Regions from separate parts of the Homo sapiens genome. Here region 2 is linked to region 1. Evidence: promoter capture Hi-C in 16 types of primary human blood cells and fetal thymus (Javierre and others, 2016). All regions are on one chromosome and are shown on one strand. The core of a region is centred on a gene start or on the middle of the fragment in contact, and the rest is flanking DNA. Distances in the headings are between cores, read along the strand shown.

The links. Contacts are between HindIII fragments. The CHiCAGO score rates a contact against its expected background, and 5 or more counts as called.
Region 2: the fragment with the promoter of RGR here is called in contact with the fragment with the promoter of CERNA2 in region 1 in 1 of 17 cell types (neutrophils); the score reaches 5.0 in neutrophils.

What each region holds. Positions count from the first base shown.
Region 1 is chr10:84,168,827-84,173,325 of GRCh38, forward strand. It overlaps CERNA2 (competing endogenous lncRNA 2 for microRNA let-7b), which reads right to left and starts at 3,250. Exons shown (of 2, transcript NR_134505.1): 1 at 2,896-3,250. RefSeq lists enhancers at 2,569-3,070, 2,985-3,034, 3,385-3,624, 4,445-4,494. The HindIII fragment of the contact is 12,565 bases long and covers 491-4,499 here.
Region 2 is chr10:84,242,653-84,247,151 of GRCh38, forward strand. RGR (retinal G protein coupled receptor) reads left to right here and starts at 2,401. Exons shown (of 7, transcript NM_001012720.2): 1 at 2,401-2,517. The coding sequence starts at 2,439. RefSeq lists an enhancer at 2,547-3,046. The HindIII fragment of the contact is 12,009 bases long and covers 1-4,499 here.

The DNA.
Region 1 (4,499 bases), core at 2,000-4,499:
CTTCAATGGTTATGCGGGGATTTTCACAGAGCAAGCTTTGGTATCTAGTTAGTCTAGCATTCATTAGCTAATGGTGTCCTTTGGTATTTATTAAAATCACCACAGCATACGAGGACTTTAGGTTTTGCCTAAGAGTTAGCTTATTTGCTTCTTGTACTAACAGGGCCATTGCTGCCAGGGCCCTTGCACATGGGGGCCAGCCTTTGGAAACCCCATCAGTTGTTTTGAGAGATAGGCCACTGGCCTTGGCCAGGGCCCTACAGTCTGGGTTAAAACTCCAACTATCATTTTTTCTCTTTCTGACACATAGAGTGTAAAGAGTTTCATCAGGTCAGGTAGCCTCAGGGCTGGGGCCAACACAATTTTTTCTTTTAAATTCATGAAAAGCTCATTGCTGTTGGTTGTAATAGATGTAGTTTATCTAATCTGCATTTTTATTGACTGTCATCTACCAAGATATTGATTTAAATCTTGTAACTATTTGATTTCAAGCTTTAAATTGATCTGGTATTCCTTGCGGGGCTTCAATTGCATCTAAATAGATGTGAGAGTTGAAAGACCTATAAGGGGCTTCTCTCACTTTATGATTTTTATTTTATTTTATTTTTTTCTTCCTCTGGTTGATGAAGTGCCAGGGTAAAAGGGATAGCCAAATGGACTAAAGCACAAGTGCCACTCTAGTTATTCAGCAGAGTGCCCAGTAAAGGTCCACCACAATACCACCACACATCCACTCGGGGATGAACAAGGGCTGACTGATTGATAAGCTCTTGAAAATTCTTAAGCTCACTGCATCCCTTCAGGTCTCCAAGGAATGCTAAGTCTCCTCCCTGCCACGAGAGACAAGAAGTGAACTTAGCGTTGGGAGACAGAAGCTGGATGGCCTTCGGGGGCTGACCCTCAGGGACTTCAGGATATAGCAGAGAGAGCTTGGCATGACTTATTACTCCAGGCTGTAGAATCCTGGAAAACAGCTACCATGCAGCCCACGCCTGGTCGACTGGAGGACCACCTTAGTGGAAGGGGGACAATCAGGGCCTCTGGCCTGCCATGTGCACAAGCATAACAATTGCTTTTGTTTAATGTGCAGATGGAATATTTGATCCATTTCAACCAGGCATTTGCATCTTGGTATGCTGTCTTAATTTCCAAAGTTTGTTTTAAGTCTTTAACTTCTATGATCCTCTAGTAAAAGGAATGTTTCCTTTAGTACCTATTTTTATTAGTTTTTAGACCAAAGAAAGTTAAACACCATTTTATATTTAATAATGCTTCTTGTATGATTTTTATACCAGATAAGCTAAATTTTACCTTTATATTAGTGTGTTATTAATGTTAAACTTAATTTTAATAAAACCTTGTAGATATATTTATCCAATTTTTCATGTTTGACCATAAGGTGAGATTTTATAGACTCTTTTTAACCTTTTATAATTTTTGTTAAAGAGCAGGTTGATGCTTTAAGAAAAACCTGTTGCATTTTTACTTTAATGTCCAGTTCACAGAAAAGCTGGATGATACCTTTTTAACTTTAGCTAATATGTTTATACACAGAATTTTCTTTACAATTAAAGTTTTAAAACTTGCTTAAACTTTCAAAACAATAATTTTTTAACCTTTTAATGTTGGTAAAAATCCACATTCTTATGCCTCCTTATAATCTTTTTACCAAAGGTATATTTTACTATTTTTATACACCTTGCACATAAACTGTTTCTTCAATAGTAGTACTCAGGAGGCTTTTTTGCATAAATTTTTTTATAACATTTTTTCTTTCACAACTTTCGCCGACAATTCTTCAACATGCCTCAACTTTCTGACTTATTACAAACATTTTTTTTCTTTAAACAACCAGTTAATTTATTTCAGGACAAGAATTTACCATATAACACTCTTTTTACATAAATTCTGCCTCCCCCCCGCTTTTTTTTTTGAAGATAACCATTCCTTTTTTTAAAGCGAACTTTCTTTATGTCTTTGGACTAGACTCTCTAAGGCCACAAGATTAGAAGTTACCACAATATATGTTATGCTGTTAACTTTTAGCAAACTTCACTTTTGTTGAAAACCTTGTAAGTTTGGGATTTCAATTATCCTTTGCTATTAATAAGACCTTGTTTAGTCTAAATTAACTTAGAATTGGTATAGATGGCCTCTTTTTTTTTTTTCTCTGCTGGTCTTTCCTTGCCTCTCCCAACTGCTTATGCTGCTGTTCTTTTAACTACTGTGGAGGGGAAGGGGGTCTAAAACCAGCTGTAACTGTCTATGTATGGAAACTGGTCTGGGTGCCTTGGCTTACAGGTTGCCCTGTGTCATACCGTTGAAACAAGGGACCTGTCCAGGCTTCTTTCTGATGACCAACCCACTCTAATGCTGGCCAGTCTATTTCACACAAAGTTCTAAGTTTTCCTGGTGTCACAGTAACATCGTAATCTCCCTTAAATTCTTTCTTGAAATTTTTATTTTTTTTAACATAGTTCCTAGTGGGGTGGGCTTATTTTTGCCTGACCCATGCTTCTTCAAGACAAAACACCATGTTCACACCACACACACACCACAAAACAAAAAACAGGTAAAAAGGGCACACACACACTTTTGCAGTTTACACCAAACCAAAATCAGAGTATCCAGAAATCCAAGCCAGGTCAAAACTAAAACCAAAGTATCACACAATCTAAGTCAAGTCAAAACCAGAACAAAAGTGTCAATGCAGGCATGCCGTGGGTGATCAGGCCATGTTTCCACCCAGATGGAGTAGGGCAAGTTCCAAAGACTAGTCTTACCAACTCAAGCCAAGTCAAAACCAGAACAAAATGCCAATACAGGCACACTGTGGGTGATCAGGCCACGCTTCCACTCAGATGGAGTGGGGCAAGTTCCAAAGACTAGTCTTACCAAGTTGTAGATGTCCGGACTCCAAGTGCCAGTTCCTTCCTGGTGTTCAGCCACTGTGTTAATCTTCCGTGGGGGCCTGCTACACGCTGCTCTGGCAAGGCGTTCCATTGGGGCAATTGCCTACCCGGGAGCGCTCTTTGGATCACGTCACTCAGGCTGGCCGGAGTTCCCCTCACGGATGCTCCACAGGGCAGGCCTAAGCCGCCTAAGGGGCTGCCTCGGCCATCCGTCAGTCACCTCGTTTCCCAGTCAGGGAACCAAGAAATGTAGCAGGGTGAGCCGCAGACAAAACCTCTCAGACACTGAGTTGTAGAAGGCAGGGCTTTATTCAGCTGGGAGCATCGGCAAGCTACTGCCTTCAAATCTGAGCTCCCTGAATACACAATTTCTGTTCCTTTTAAGGGCTCACAACACTAAAGATTTCACATGAAAGGGTCGTGATTGATTTGAGCAAGCAGGCGGTACGTGACAGGGGCTGCATGCACCGGTGGTCAGAGAGAAACAGAACAGGGCAGGGAGTTTCACAATGTTCTTCTATACAATGTCTGGAATCTATGAATAACATTGGTTTTTAAGTTATGAGTTGATTTTTAACTACTGGGTTTAGTCCAGGCAGGCCCAGGCCTGGTTTCAGGCCTGGCGCCGGGCTGCCTGTCTTTGGTTTTACTTCCTTGTTTTTTCTTAAAAGAGGTACTGAGTATAAAACAATATAAAACAATATGAGAGGGTATCTCTCTTCCCTCAGTTTGGGAGTGGAGGTTTGAGAGCAGCCCAGGCAGAGGCTCATCAGGGTGCATGGGAAACATCCTAATTTCTTCCGAAAAATATTCCTCCTACCCACCACCTCTCATAGGCCCAGGGGCTCTGAACCCTCTGACACCATCTGAGGCCAGAGCCTAGCAAGTGTTCAGGCACCCATGCACCATTATTAAAGGGAACTCAGACCCACTCTGATGGAAAAGGAGCCCAAAGCATTCCTGTCATCAGTCTCTACCCGGCTGAAGGATCCCCCGGCCTCCCTTTTGCCAGTCTGATTCCTCTGCTGGTCCAGGAAGCCCACCATGACCTGGCCTACCATGCCAGGCCATCTCCGACCCAATCTTATTCCATCTCTGCAGAGTGTCCCCTCCCTCCCCCACCTTCTGACTGAGCAACCTACGTCCCCTTCCTTCAGTATAGACAGCACTTACAATGCTGTGAGACAGTCACTTGTCTGCACAGCTTCCTCCACCAACAGGAGCTCCTTGAGGCGAGGCACAGTGTCTTCTGTGTCCCTGGAGCCAAGCGCATGGCTCAGCCCAGGTCACGTGTCCAGTGAATGGGTGGCATCTGAGCCTCCTGCACCTGTGGTCAGACTTTCCCCCATGCCTGCCCTGGGCAGAGGCTCCTCTCTTCCAGGCCTTGTTCAGGGTGACCCTGTACTTGAAGTGTCTTCTCATTTCATCACTGTCTTAAACATCAAAGTCCACCTGTGGCCCCACCTCCTTTAAGAGCTGTGTGAGCACCTTGGTGCAGATGGCTTCTCATACATGCCTCAATACAGGCTTGTGAGAGAGATAGTCCTGTGCCCATTTCACAGATGGGAAGCCGACTCAAAGACATTC
Region 2 (4,499 bases), core at 1,151-3,650, 73 kb after region 1:
TGAGCTCAAGCCATCCTCCTGCCTCAGCCTCGCAAGTAGCTGGAACTGCAGGCAACCACCACCATGTTTGGCTATTTTTAAAAAATTATTTTTTGCAGTCAGGGTCTTGCCATGTTGCCCAGGATGGTCTCAAACTCCTGGCCTCAAGCGATCCTCCTACCTCAGTCTCCCAAAGTGCTGGGATTACAGGCCTGAGCCACTGCACCCAGACTAATTTCAATTTTTACTTATTCTCTCCTAACCCTATCTCGCCCCACCATATCTACTCAAGATGCCAGTGGGGACTGACCAGGGATGATTCCCAGCAGTAGACACTCAGTCGACTCATTCATTCATTCTTCACATTTGACCCTGAGGCATTGTTCTCTGGTCCAGCATGCCCTACCTATGTTGTTTGGCTTTTCTAGAAGGTTCCCCAGTCCTTCATGCCTGTGGCTCCAGGCAGGCCTAGACCAGTGAGGTATGACCTGCAAAGATATCTGGGGCCCCAGTGCACACATAAAATGCCTAGCTCGGAGCCAGGTCTGTTTCAACAATACTGGCTTCTCATTCTTTCCTTCCTTCCAATGCAGCCAGTAGGATTTTCTCAGTGCTTCCCAGCTATACTTCCACCTCCCCAAACCCAGCCGTCAGCTTGCCTGTTCCCACATCTCTGCTTCTTCCTCCTTGTGTCTTTTGCCCAAATGAACTTTACCCTTTAATCTTGGCCTTGCCCTGCTTTATCTCCTCTCATGAAGGCTTTTGTGATCTCGAAGGCATGAAAAAAGGACTGACATATGTATTAACCAACACCATAAGGTAGAAATTGAGACAGAAGGCCAGGCAGGGTGGCTCATGACTGTTATCCCAGCATTTTGGGAGTCCAAGGCCAGCAGATCACCTGAGGTCGGGAGTTCAAGACCAGCCTGACCAACATGGAGAAACCCTGTCTCTAATAAAAATACAAAATTAGCCGAGCATGGTGGCACATGCCTGTAATCCCAGCTACTCGGGAGGCTGAGGCAGGAGAATAGCTTGAACTGGGGAGGTAGAGGTTGCGTGAGCCGAGATTGCGCCATTGCACTCCAGCCTGGGCGACAGAGCGAGACTCCATCTCAAAAACAAACAAAAAAACAAAAAAGAAATTGAGAAAGAACAGGGAACGCTCTGGAGGGCGCAGCCATAAGCTCAGCCCTGCAGAGGGATTAGGCTTGGATGTAAGTGAGGACTCATGAGAGGAAAGGCCTGGGAAGTGGGCATTCCTGGAACAGAGTGGGTTGCTCTACCAGGTGAGTCAGAAGATGCCATTGAAAAATGCCTGAGCCTGAGGAATAGGAGATCGGCTTTTGTTCCAGCTCCATCCATAAATTACTGCATGGCCTCAGGCAGATTCTTAACTGTTTTTAGCCACAGTTTCCTCATCTAAAATGGAAAGGATAATGGTATCTAACTCATGGAGTTGTTGTAGGACTCATCAGAAGATCCCCTAGCACAGGGCCTGACCTCACTCAATATTAGCTATGTTGCTGATAGTGCTCTGGAGCTTGGTTTCTTTATCTGAAAATGAACTAAGTTGTCCTAGATCAGTATTTCCTGGTGTAAATTTTATCATGAGCCAGAGCATAACAGTGCATAAAGAGCCAGTGTATCAAGAAGTCATTTGTAGCAGCCAAAGCTCTTAGTGGGGCCGGCAAGGCTGGGCGGGTTCGGGGTCGGAGACTGACAAGACGGCAGGCAGCCCCTCTGTTCTAAGACAGTGTCCTAGGACATTTTTTATGCTCAGGTGCTCTATGGGAGACAGGAAATGCAGCCCTGAGGTTTATATTCGTGATATCTAACCAGGACTTATATAAAGGCCACAGACAAAAGACATTGACATTGCAGAAAAGTAAACGGAAGAGTCCAGTGGTCCCACTCCAAGGCGCATAACTAGTTAGTGGCAGATTCAGAACCAGAACCCCAACCCCATTTTCTGGTCCCAGATGGGGTTCTTCCTCTGACAGCAGGCGACTTCCCAAGCCTCATCCTTTCCCCAGCGCTTTGGAGTATACTCATGTGAGCCTGAGGACACACACACAGGCACCAGGCTTGTTGGGAACAGCTGCGGCTCAAATCCCTCCTCCTGCTCCCCTCCCCTGGTTATGCAACTCTTTTCCAATTAGGCTCTCAGCCACACACCATTTGGATTCCCCGACCTTAATCCTGTGCAATGGGGCTGAAATGAATGAGACAGGGCTCCATTCTGGCTTCACAAAGGCTGCATTGTCCAACTCGTGAATGGGTTCCTTCTGCTTGGGCCAAGAGGACCATTTGCAGCGGGGAGGCATCCAGAAACAGCCCAAGGTCCAACATAATAACCTGCATGTGCCTCCACGCACATGGGATGGCCCTTTAAAAGGGAGGGCCTGGCTGTGGGAAGCCAGAGACAGCTGGGCCACTGGCAGTGAGGGAGAGTGAGGATGGCAGAGACCAGTGCCCTGCCCACTGGCTTCGGGGAGCTCGAGGTGCTGGCTGTGGGGATGGTGCTACTGGTGGAAGGTGAGCCAGGCAGAACCTGGGGTGCAGCGGGGGCCCAGTGGGTTCTGAGGACCCAGGCCACCAGTGTGGAGCTGGCAAGGAGAGGAGAGGTCCCCAAACCCAGCTGGGTGTCCGGTCCCATTGGCTGCCTTCCCCTCTGTGCCCGGACTCGGGGGGTGTTCTGACAATTGAACCTGTGAGGTGCAGCACACTGCCCGCTGGGAGCAGAGAGGAAGCCAGGCAAGGGTCAGGGAGGGAGGGACTTTGAAAGGGGACATCTGCCCAGGAGATGATCAAGAGCCAGGCTTTAGGACTTTTCATGTCCCTCCAGCCGGGAGAAAATTTAATCCACTCCTTGGAAATCCTGCTGAGAATCCCACATAAGATCAGTCCCCCAAAAGGCTCTGGGGACAGACAGCTCTGCCTCCTGCTCTTGTGTGGCTGGAACCAAGTCCCTTCAGCTCTCTGCCCTCAATGCCTTGACATTCCGAATGGGTGGTTGTAAAGATTAAATGGGATAATGGGTATAAAGTGCTAGCCTAAATAGACTCTAGGGTATTTAAGTTCATTCACTCCCATCCTCTCCAGCCCCACCACTATTTTCACTGTGTCTACTCCTATGAGCCCAAGCACTTCACCTCTGGAGGCAACCTGGGTCTGCGAGGTACCTACCTCAACCTAGAATCCCTAAGATGCTCGCTGAGGCCAGAGCTAGAGACAGTGTCAATCCTGAATCTGGGCCAGCCCAAGCTAAATTGATGGAGAACGCAGCTTTGGTTCAAAGCAGACCCAGAGAAATCATCAGCACGTTTTCTCACCTAATGAGAACTGACAATGGAGAGGAAGTGACAGTCATTAGATTGGTCCTGAAGGCTCTGGACACGACTGTCTGGTGGCCCCAGCCCGTGTCTCCCTTTCCTGAGAACCCTACAATCTAGCATCCTTCCAGGTCCTCAAACATGCCATAAAATTTTACCACTTTATTTTTTGGAAGGGGTTTAAATTTACATTTTTATTTCATGTTTAATGACTAGAAATGTCATTATATACACAATGCTTTGGTTTTTATTTTATTTAAAATATGTTTTAAATTTCAATAGCTTTGGGGATACAAGTGATTTTTGTTTACATAGATGAATTACATCGTGGCAAATGCTAGGACTTTAGTGCACTCATCACCCAAGTAGCGTACATTGTGCCTCATTTGTAGGTTTTTTTAATCCCACTCCCTCTCCCACCCTTCCCCTTCTGAGTCTCCAGAGTCCATTGTGTCCTCTGAATGCCTTTGCGTACTCACGGTTTAGCTCCCACTTGTAACTGAGAACAAACAGCATTTGGTTTTCCATTCCTGAGTTACTTCACTTACAATAATGGCCTCCAGCTCCATCCAAATTGCTGTAATAAGACATTATTTCATTCCTTTTTACAGCTATTATTCCATGATGTATATATACTACATTTTCTTTATCCATTCATTGGTCAGTGGGCACTTACATTGATTTCGTATCTTTGCAATTGTGAATTGTGCCTCGGTAAGCATAGATGTGCATGTGTGTTTTTGGCTGGATTAAATGGCAGATCTACTTTTAGTTATTTAAGGAATCTCTATACTGTTTTCCATAGAGGTTGTATTAATTTACATATTCCCACCAGCAGTGCATAAGCATTCCCTTTTTACCACATCCATGGCATTGATCTATTGTTTTTTGACTTTTTAATGATGGTCATTCTTATAGGAGTAAGGTGGTATCTCATTGTACCATAGCATGTCTTTGCACATGCTATTCCCTCCTGGAATGCTCTTCCATGCACTGTCCTGCAGGTAAGTGCTTCTCATAGTTTTGAAGGCAGGATTTTTTCCTGTTCCTCACTTTAGATAGGGGAAGCTGAGGTTCAGAGAGCTTAAGGAGCAGCAAGCGAGGCAACCAAGCCAAAATTCAAGGTCGGGTCTCTCTGTTGCCAGAGTACGCCCCCTTCATGTTCACTTCCATGCCTGGCGTCCT